Linked DNA regions of Homo sapiens: region 1 is linked to region 2. Evidence: promoter capture Hi-C in 16 types of primary human blood cells and fetal thymus (Javierre and others, 2016). All regions are on one chromosome and are shown on one strand. Each heading gives the region's core, a stretch centred on a gene start or on the middle of the fragment in contact. The rest is flanking DNA. Distances are from core to core; before and after follow the strand shown. Region 1 overlaps IFT122 (intraflagellar transport 122). Region 2 holds the start of H1-8 (H1.8 linker histone).

The links. The method cuts DNA at HindIII sites, captures the fragments that hold promoters and counts their contacts. A CHiCAGO score of 5 or more calls a contact.
Region 1: a fragment that was not itself captured here is called in contact with the fragment with the promoter of H1-8 in region 2 in 1 of 17 cell types (endothelial precursors); the score reaches 6.2 in endothelial precursors.

The regions. Positions count from the first base shown.
Region 1 is chr3:129,508,694-129,513,251 of GRCh38, forward strand. It overlaps IFT122 (intraflagellar transport 122), which reads left to right. Exons shown (of 30, transcript NM_052989.3): 24 at 3,619-3,719. Among named protein-coding and RNA genes, the nearest start is that of RHO, 18 kb to the right of the region's middle. The HindIII fragment of the contact is 2,177 bases long and covers 555-2,731 here.
Region 2 is chr3:129,541,517-129,546,122 of GRCh38, forward strand. H1-8 (H1.8 linker histone) reads left to right here and starts at 1,659. Exons shown (of 5, transcript NM_153833.3): 1 at 1,659-1,790. The coding sequence starts at 1,703. RefSeq lists an enhancer at 1,198-1,699. The HindIII fragment of the contact is 913 bases long and covers 1,482-2,394 here.

The DNA of each region.
Region 1 (4,558 bases), core at 393-2,892, 33 kb before region 2:
CTCTTGGAAAGCATTTTCTGCATCCTGCTGGTTGTGGAAGCATTTTCCCTGCAAAAAGTTGTTGAGATGGTTGAAGAAGTGGTAGTTGGTTAGCAAGAGGTCAGGTGAATATTGCGATGAGGCAAAATTTTGAAGTATTGGTTGTGTGATGTGCAGTCAGGTGGGTGGAGAAGAATTGGGCCCTTTCTGTGAACCAGTGCCAGCTGCAGGTGTTGCAGTTTTCGGTGCATCTCCTCGATTTGCTGAGCATACTTCTCAAATGTAATCATTTCACCAGGATCAGACAACTGTAGTGGATCAGACCAGCAGCAGACCACCAAACAGTGATCATGACCTTTTTTTGGTGCAAGTTTGGCTTTGGGAACTGCTTTGGAGCTTTTTCTCAGTCCAGCCGTGGAGCTGGTCATCACGGTTGTCATGTAAAGTCCACTTTTTGTCACACCTCACATCTGATTGAGAAATGTTTTGTTGTTGTTGCATAGAATAAGAAAAGACAACACTTCAAAACGACTATATTTTCATTTTCTATCAGCTCATGAGGCACCCACTTATCAAGCTTTTTCACCTTCCCAATTTGCTTCAAATGCCAAACAACCGTAGAATGGTTGACATTGAGTTCTTCGGCAACTTCTCCTGTAGTTGTGAGAGGATCAGCTTCGATGATTGCTCTCGGTTGTTGTCAACTTCCAGTGGCCGGCCACTATGCTCCTCATCTTCAAGCCTCTCATCTCCTTTGCAAAACTTCTTGAACCACCACTGCACTGTATGTTTGTTAGCAGTTCCTGGGCCAAATGCGTTGTCGATGTTACGAGTTGTCTCTGTTGCTTTATGACCCATTTTGAACTCAAATAAGAAAACTGCTTGAATTTGTTTTTTGTCTAACATCATTTGCATAGTCTAAAATAAACAGTAAGTAATAACTCATTAGCAAAAAAACATAAAGCGAGAAATGCCCGTTGAAATGATGTATAACATAACCACATTTAAGAATGTATTCTACTATCAAACAGCAAATTCCAGAGCCAATATGTGAGTCTCAGTAGTCTGGCACTGGAGCCTGTGTTCCTAGCCTTTCCCTCCCTGTCTCCTTTTAGAGAAAGCAGGCTAGTATGTTGGTTTAGTGGGTAAACTCGAGAGTCCTCACACACAAATGACACTGTGTTACTTATCTTCTCTGGCCTTCAGCTTCTTTCTCTATAAAATAGGGATAACAGCACTATGTACTTGATGGGATTGTTTTGAGGATTAGACGAGTTAATATTGGAAGAGTACCTAGCACAGAGTGACCCTAGGTGGCAGCTATCCTTACTGCTGCTCCAGGCAAGGCTTCACGCCAGCTTTCCCTGACCTGCTCCCTCCAGCTGGGCATCTAGCATTTCTCTTTTTTCAGAGATGAGGTCTCTGTCGCCCAAGGTGGAGTGCAGTGTCATGATCATAGCTCATGGCAGCCTCAAACTGCTGGACTCAAGTGATCCTCCTGCCTGAGCCTCCCAGAGCACTGGGATTACAGGCATGAGCCACCACGCCCAGCCTTCCCGCCGTTCTTTGACCTCTCAAATGCCCTGCCTTCCACCTTGGGCATTTCTTTCCCTCTAATCTGTGCTGACTTCTCAGCACATTTTTTGCCTCTTGGGAAAGTCTGGCAAGAAGGACTCCTGACAGGCTCTGTGCATGCCGTCAGTCTAGTGTTACATCTCTTCCCACAGCAGGGTCAGTGGTCTCAAGGGACCTCATCTTCCCTTACAGTCTTTGGCTTTCCTGAAACGAGACCCCCTCAGGGTCCCTCATCTTTATCAGGTGCTCACCTGGAGAGAAACCACCACAAAAGGAGCCCAGACTCAACTTAGGCTGGAAGTCAGGGCCCAGCTCAGCCTCACTTTGCCCAAGCCACTCCAGAGCCTGGCTCTCAGCTCCTTCCCTCAGACTTTTCTCTCGCTGCTCCCTGTCCTCTTCCTCACCTGGGGCATGGGGCTGAGGGCTCCTGTCTCTAACAGCTGAGCTCTGCTCCAGGACCTACATGGGACTAGGAGCTAAGGGGCCTCAGACCAGCTGGGGCCCTGGCTCTTATCCCAGCTGAATCTTATTAATTGGGCCATTCCTTCATTCAATAAATGCCTACTACGTGACAGACCCTGTGATGAGACCTGGTGACACGGTGGTGAACAAAACGTTGTCCCTGCAGTCAGTCCCAGTCTAGCAAACAGGACAATCCCTCAGGGGAAACGTTTAGAGGCCTGTGAAGAGACTTCCTGGAGGAGGTGTCCTCTCAGCCAGAAGGAGGGAGAGAATAAAAATGGGGCAAGTGAAGTGGAGGAGGATTAGGAAGGGTGTTTGTGGCAAAGGTCACAGCCTGTGCAAAGGCCTGGAGGTGAGTGGTAGTTTGTGGTTCAGCATCCAGGGCCCAGCAGAGCAGCACTGATTCAGGGCAAGACTGGAAAGGGAAGTTCAGGTCCTTCCTGGATACATGGCATCTTTCCCAGAGGAAAGGACTCCCCTGCTACCTATTCTCTCTGGGACGTTACTTAGCTTCCCTACCTAGTGCAGTAGAACCACAGGCAGAGTTCATCTTGTTCTTACCCTGGAAAGGATGTGGTCTCAGGTTTTCTTGGGTTCTTGGAGCTAACAAAAGGTATAGAAATTTACGTGTGAACTAAATAGAAAATGCTAAGCTCTGAACTGAAGAAGTGTAGAGCAAAGTGAGTCCTCAGGAGTTCAGACCAATTAGGGGTTAAGCTTTGGTGGCTCAGTGATGAGTAGGGCCTCACAAGACCCTTCTTAAGTGCTCACAAGAAAGAGGAGTTACTGGCCTGCTGTAATCCTCACCATCTAAAGCTTTATTAGAAATGGGCAATCTCAGTTTATATACAGTGTGCCAGATGCCTTCAAAATAAGGTATTCTTAACCTTTTGTAGACCCTCACACAGAAAATTCCTTATTTGTCTGCTGAGCTTCTGGCAGCCTCTAGGTACGAAGACCAATCACTAATCTGTGCTAACTGCCTCCTGTTAGTGCCTATGCCAGGAGCCAGGGAAATGGGTCAGCAGTTGAGGAACTCCGCATGTGTGCTCGTTTGGTGGCACATCAGTCAAGCTGCTGTTGGAAAGCACAGAAGAGGCATGTGGGTTCATGCTGGAGAGGGCTAAATGCCTCTGTTGAAAGACAGGCTTATATGAATCAGTGGTTATGTCCTAAGCTGCATAGAAGGTCTTCTCTTTTAGAGCTAATTGGAGACAACTTGAGTAGTTCAGAGAAATGGAATAATTACCAACTCCAGAGGCAGTACAGCTTGGAAGAAAGACATTCTTGGGCTTTGGAATCAGACCTGGGTTTGAACAGCAGCTCAGCTCTGTTCTAGTTGGTGACTTGGGCAAATCATCTATCTAGGTGTCGGTTTCCTCATCAGTACTGTGAGGATAAAAATGCATACCACAAGGTTATTATGTTAAAGACCAGATGAGACAGTGGCTATATGGCGCTCAGCACACAGTAGGAGTAGGTGCTCAATAATCAGAGCCGCTCTTGTTGATGTCACTCAGAATTATTGGTGTCTGCCTTTTGGCCTGGCCCAGCAGCAGCTCTTGAAGAACTCAATCCCTGTTTGCTTTTCTCTCACTGCAGGAAGATCCGTTCAGTGTCCATCGTCCTGAAACTCTTTTCAACATCTCCAGGTTCCTGCTGCACAGCCTGCCCAAGGACACCCCCTCGGGCATCTCTAAAGTGTATCCTTTCTCTTATCCCTCCTCCGTCCCACCACCGTTCTTGTCTAATGGCCCCAAGAAATTCCTTCCAGAGCACTTTCCTGGCAGAACCTTCCTCTCTCAGCAACCCTCAGGGAAGACAGAGAACTCACCCTCCCGCTGCTGTTTGGCTATAGAGGCTCAGCAGGGAGGCCCAGGGGCCCAGGCCAAGAGAAGATGAGTTTTCAGGGCTCTCTGAGCTGAACCCAGCAGTGGGTCTCTGGCCAACACACTGTCCCAATCCCTCCTAGAACCCACAGATGAGGGTGTGACTGAAATGGAAGAAGCACCAGGCCTTCAGGCTTGGAACCTTGGGCACTTCTCCAGACTGGGGAGGAGGGAGTGTTTGTTCAGCCCAGGTATACATAGCACCTTCTGTGCCCCAAGCCCTGGGCCAGGCACCAGGTGGCAAAGCTGCCATCAAAGAGGGAGGTCACAAGTTAGGGTCTGGTTTGGTGGATGTGTGCTGTGTCTGAGGGTGGAATGAAGCTGAGGTCAGGGCCATGGTCAGGGAAGTTTACCTGGAGGAGGAGATGTCCATCATGCAAGCTGAGGCAGCCAGGGAAGATGGCCAAGTGGATGTTCCAGGGGAGGACCCAGCATATGGAGAGGCAAGCAAGGCATGTGGGAGAGGGTGAGGGGACCCTGGGTGGGAGGGGCCGGAGAGGCAGCAGGACCCAAGGCCTGAGAGCCTACCTTTGGGTTTTCCTCTCTTCTGTAGCCATCGAGGGCCACAGTGGTACCATAAGCAGAGCAGGTGCCTGAAGGGCCTGTGCAGCCAGATACTGGATCATTACCAGGCAATGATCCAGATTTTTAAG
Region 2 (4,606 bases), core at 409-2,908:
AACATCGCTGAATTGCTTTCTAAGGCGGCTACCAGCTCACTCCCCACCCCCCAGCAGCTATACTTTCCTTGAATCCTAGTCACTCACTATTGATAGACACTTACATCTTTGTCATTTTGCTGAGTGTGAAATACAGCCTCATTCTTGTTTGTTTTCTTTTCTTTCCCTCCCCCTTTTTTTTGGGGGGGGCAGGGTCTTACTCTGTAGCCCAGGCTGGAGTGCAGGGGTGTGATCACAGCTCCCTGCAGCCTTGACCTCCCAGGCTCAAGCAATCCTCCTGCCTCGGCCTCCCAGGTAGCTGGGACTACAGGTGCACACCACCATGCCCAGCTAATTTTTGTATTTTTTGGTAGAGACAGGATTTCACTTTTTTGCCTAGGCTGGTCTTGAACTCCTGGGCTCAAGCGATCCTCCTGCCTCAGCCTCCCGAAGTTCTGGGATTACAGGTATGAGCCACCATGCCTGGCCTCTCATCCTTGTTTTAATCCATCTTGTCATTTTATATTATATTATATTATTTTATTTTATTTTTATTTACTTATTTTTGAGACACAGTTTCGCTCTTGTTGCCCAGGCTGGAGTGCAATGGCTCGATCCTGGTTCACTGCAGTCTCCAGCTCCCAGGTTCAAGTGATTCTCCTGCCTCAGCCTCCCAAGTAGCTGGGACTACAGGTGCACACCACCACGCCCAGCTAATTTTGTATTTTTAGTAGAGATGAAGTTTTACCATGTTGGCCAGGCTGGTCTCAAACTCCTGACCTCAGGTGATCCGCCCACCTCAGCCTCCCAAAGTGCTAGGATTACAGGCCTGAGCCACCGCACCAGCCCACCTTGTCATTTTAGATGGCTGCAGAATATTCTGCAGAAAGGGTGTGATTTAGCCAGGCCTTGGGTGTTTGCTTGGAAAGTTTTTTTTTTTTGTCTGTCAATTTGATGGGAAAAAGTAGTATTTCACCATTGTTTCAATTTGAATTTTCTCAAATGCCAAGGAAGTTGAGTGTCCATTTTCCTGTTTCTGTTCCTCACCCTTTAGGCTGGTGAATTGCCTGTTTATATTCTTTGTCCATTGTCCCAGTGGATGTTGTCCTTATCTATGAAGACTTTTGTGAAGCATCCTCCGTTATTGATTTATTTCTTTAAAAACAAAACCAAAGGAGGGCATAGGCCCAGAGAGCCTGGCTGGCCTCAGAAGGGGCTACTCTGATTGAGGGGCATGTGCTCTGGGCAAAAGTAGCAGTTGGGCTGCCTCCAACTGCTACTTTTTGAGAAATTGAGGCCAGCAGTGGCGTGGGGCAGCCCATTGCCCACCTGGTAGGATTAGAGGGCCGCCTCAGCGGCCTCCCTGACAACACAGGTGACCCCAATTCCTCATCAGCATCTCCAGCCCCTGGTGGGCAGAGGGCACAGGCGAGATCAAGCATCTCAGCTCCCAACATTGCACCATGGGGACTGAGACCCAGAGAAGTCAAGCGACACCCCCAAGCTTACACAGGAGTGGGTAGTCCAGCTGGGGCTCCCTACAGAAGGCAGGATGCTGTGCCCCATTCCACACCTCCAGCCCCAGTCAGCAGCTTGGAGCACTCCCAGCCCAATCAGGGCTGATTGGAGTGGTGGGGGTGGGCTGCTGGTATATAAGCCTAGTGGGCAGGCCCAGCAGCCTCACACCCGGGTGAGGGGTCTGCTGGCTGCACCTGTCGGTCTCATGGCTCCTGGGAGCGTCACCAGCGACATCTCACCCTCCTCGACTTCCACAGCAGGATCATCCAGGTCTCCTGAATCTGAAAAGCCAGGTGAGCAAGAGGAGGCAGCTCCTCCCTCATCCCTGCGAGCCCACTCCCTGGGTTGCCTTTGATGCTCCACCCCTGCTTCTCGTTCTTTCCCAGCCTGGCCCCAGCACCTACCCAGCACCCACCCAGCACTCACCCAGCACTCACCCAGCACCCACCCAGCACCAAGCTGCTGAGCTCAACTGCCTTTTGGCTGAAGAGCTGATCTACAGGTAGCAAGGCCAGGTAGGGCCTGGGGGCTGGGGCCGGCCTCGCTCAGGGAAGAGCCACAGGGCCTTCCAGCTGGAGCCCGTTTCCTGCTGGGACCGTAGCCCGTAGCCAGGCTGCAGCTGTGGGCAGCTAGTTGGAGGGACTGGGGCAGGAGCATTTTATGCAGGGCTAGGCATTCCGATTTTCAACCAAAAAACACCTCAGGGTTTATCTGGACATGAGGGTGCACCGAGGCAAACCAGGCCCAGTTCACTCCCTCGAGGACCTCCCGGTCTGATGGGGAAGCCTGGCCCATGGCTTGTTGCTGTTTGCTAATGTGATGTGTGCTTCAGTGGCGGTAATCCAGAGCTGGAGGAGCCCAGAGGAGTCCTCTAACCCACTCTGGGAGGTCAGGGAAAGCTTCCTAGAAGAGGTGACCCTGAAGGATGGGTGTGCCTCAGCCGGGGGAAGTGTTCTATTTGCCAAGACACCTAGGGAGATAGGGAGGGGGTCCAGGTGCCGAGAAGTAAAAGGGCAGAGTTAACTGGGAAGTCAGAGGTGTCCAAACCAAGGTGCATTTTGAGCCTTGAAGGATGAGTGAGAGCAGCCTGCATGACCGGGAGGAGAGAGGCAGCCCAGGCAGAGGAAACGGCATGGGCTAAGGCCCAGAGGCCAGCGCACCAGCAGCTTGTCTCGGAAGCTGCATCTTCCTTCTGGGAAGGAGGGAAGTGCTGGGGCAGTGCTAGGGGAGCAGTGGGAGGGCCTCCAAGGCGGTCTTCAGTTAGGTCAACTTTTATCTTGAACAGGGAGCCATGGACGGTTTCAAGCAGGGAGGTGAGGGGTGTGAGATACAGCGAGGAGAATGCATGCGGTGGGGAAGAGGCAGTGGGGAGGAGGCTGGGGCTGGGGAGTTGGAGAGGAGAGGCCAGAATATGGAGAGAAAAGCCTATGGGGAGGCCTCGAGTGGGTGTGGTGAGGAGGAAAGGGCCCAGAATGCCCCCAGTTCTTGCTTGGATGTTGGGTAGGTATGGGCAGTGGGGGCATGGGGCATTCCTGGAAGAGAGAGGAGGGGCAGATTTGGGGGGCTGAGCTCTGTTCTGGACATCCTGGTATACAGCAGGCATGGAATAGCTGCCGAATGAGGGGCTGGGATGAGAGGGAACAGACCTGAGGGAGGACTCCTGGGGGTGGCTCTCTGGGACAGACATGGTCTGGGGGAAGCAGAGGAGGGGTTGGAGCTGCTCGTGAAGTCAGGCCAAGCGAAGACCCTTGGGAAGCCCTGTAGCACTGCAGCTGGGAGGGCTCAGACCTCCTTAGAGGCCCCCGTCCCCACTGTACGGATGGGAAGACTGAGGCCTAGAGGGAAGAATGAAACTCCCGAGAACCCGGGAGTGACCCAGGACTACACCAGCTCAACGCCTTTGGCCCCCAAATGAATATTCCCACACTGGGCTCGTCATGGCCAGGACCCAACAGGGGTCGAAGTGATTAGGTCTCTTTATAATTTTGCTCTAGATCTAGAGTTTCATGGTTTTTTTTTTCTATTGAAAAAAAATTTTAATATAGCCAATTTTTTTTTTTTTTTTGAGACAGGGTCTTGCTTTGTCACCCAGGCTGGAGTGCAGTGGTGTGATCTCAGCTCACTGCAGTCTCCACTTCCCAGGCTCAAGCAATCTTCCCACCTCAGCCTCCCAAGTAGCTAGGCCTATAGGCACACACCACCACACTCTGCTCATTTTTAAAGATTTTCGTAGAGTCGAGGTCTCACGATATTGCCCAGAATTTAAGTCTTTAAATTCTGCAGATTGATCAGAAATCAACATTTCCATTCACCACATTTAAATCCGGTTTCATATTTAAATCCCTTTTATGCATTTCATGGTGACTGACAACTTCTCATGCTTCCCCCACCCTTGATCCCACTTCATTTGCAACTATTTTATAACACCTTATTGAGAAATAATTCCCATACAATACAATTCACCCTTTAAAGTGTACAATGGCTTTTGGTATACTCAGAGTTGTGTATCCATCTCTATAATCAATTTTAGAATATTTTCATCACTTCAAGAAAACCAGTACCCATTAGCAGTCACTCTCCACCCCCACTCCCCAGCCCTGGCAACCACCAATCTGCTTTCTGCATCTATGGACTTCTTATTCTGGACATTTCATATAAATGGAATCAGACAGTATGTGGCTTTTTCTGACTGCCTTTTTTCACTTTGCATGTTTCAGGGCTCCTCCATGTCGTAGCCAGGGCTTCACTCCTTTGTATGGCTGGATAATATTCCACGGGATGGGTAGCGACCACATTTTGTTCATCCATCTGTCAATCATTCATCATGGATGTTTGGGCTGGTTCCATCTTTGGGCCGACATGAATAGTGCTGCTATGAACATTCATGTGTACATTTTTGTGTGGACATGCGTTTTCATTTCCCTCAGGTATATACCGAAGAGTGGAATTTTTTGGTAACTTTTTATTATGAAAACTTTCAGGGCCGAGCATGGTGGCTCATGCTTGTAATCCTAGCACTTTGGGAGACTGAGGTGGGAAGATAGCTTGAACTCAGGAGTTTGAGACTAAACTGAGCAATGTAGTGAGACCTGTGTCAAATAACAATAAC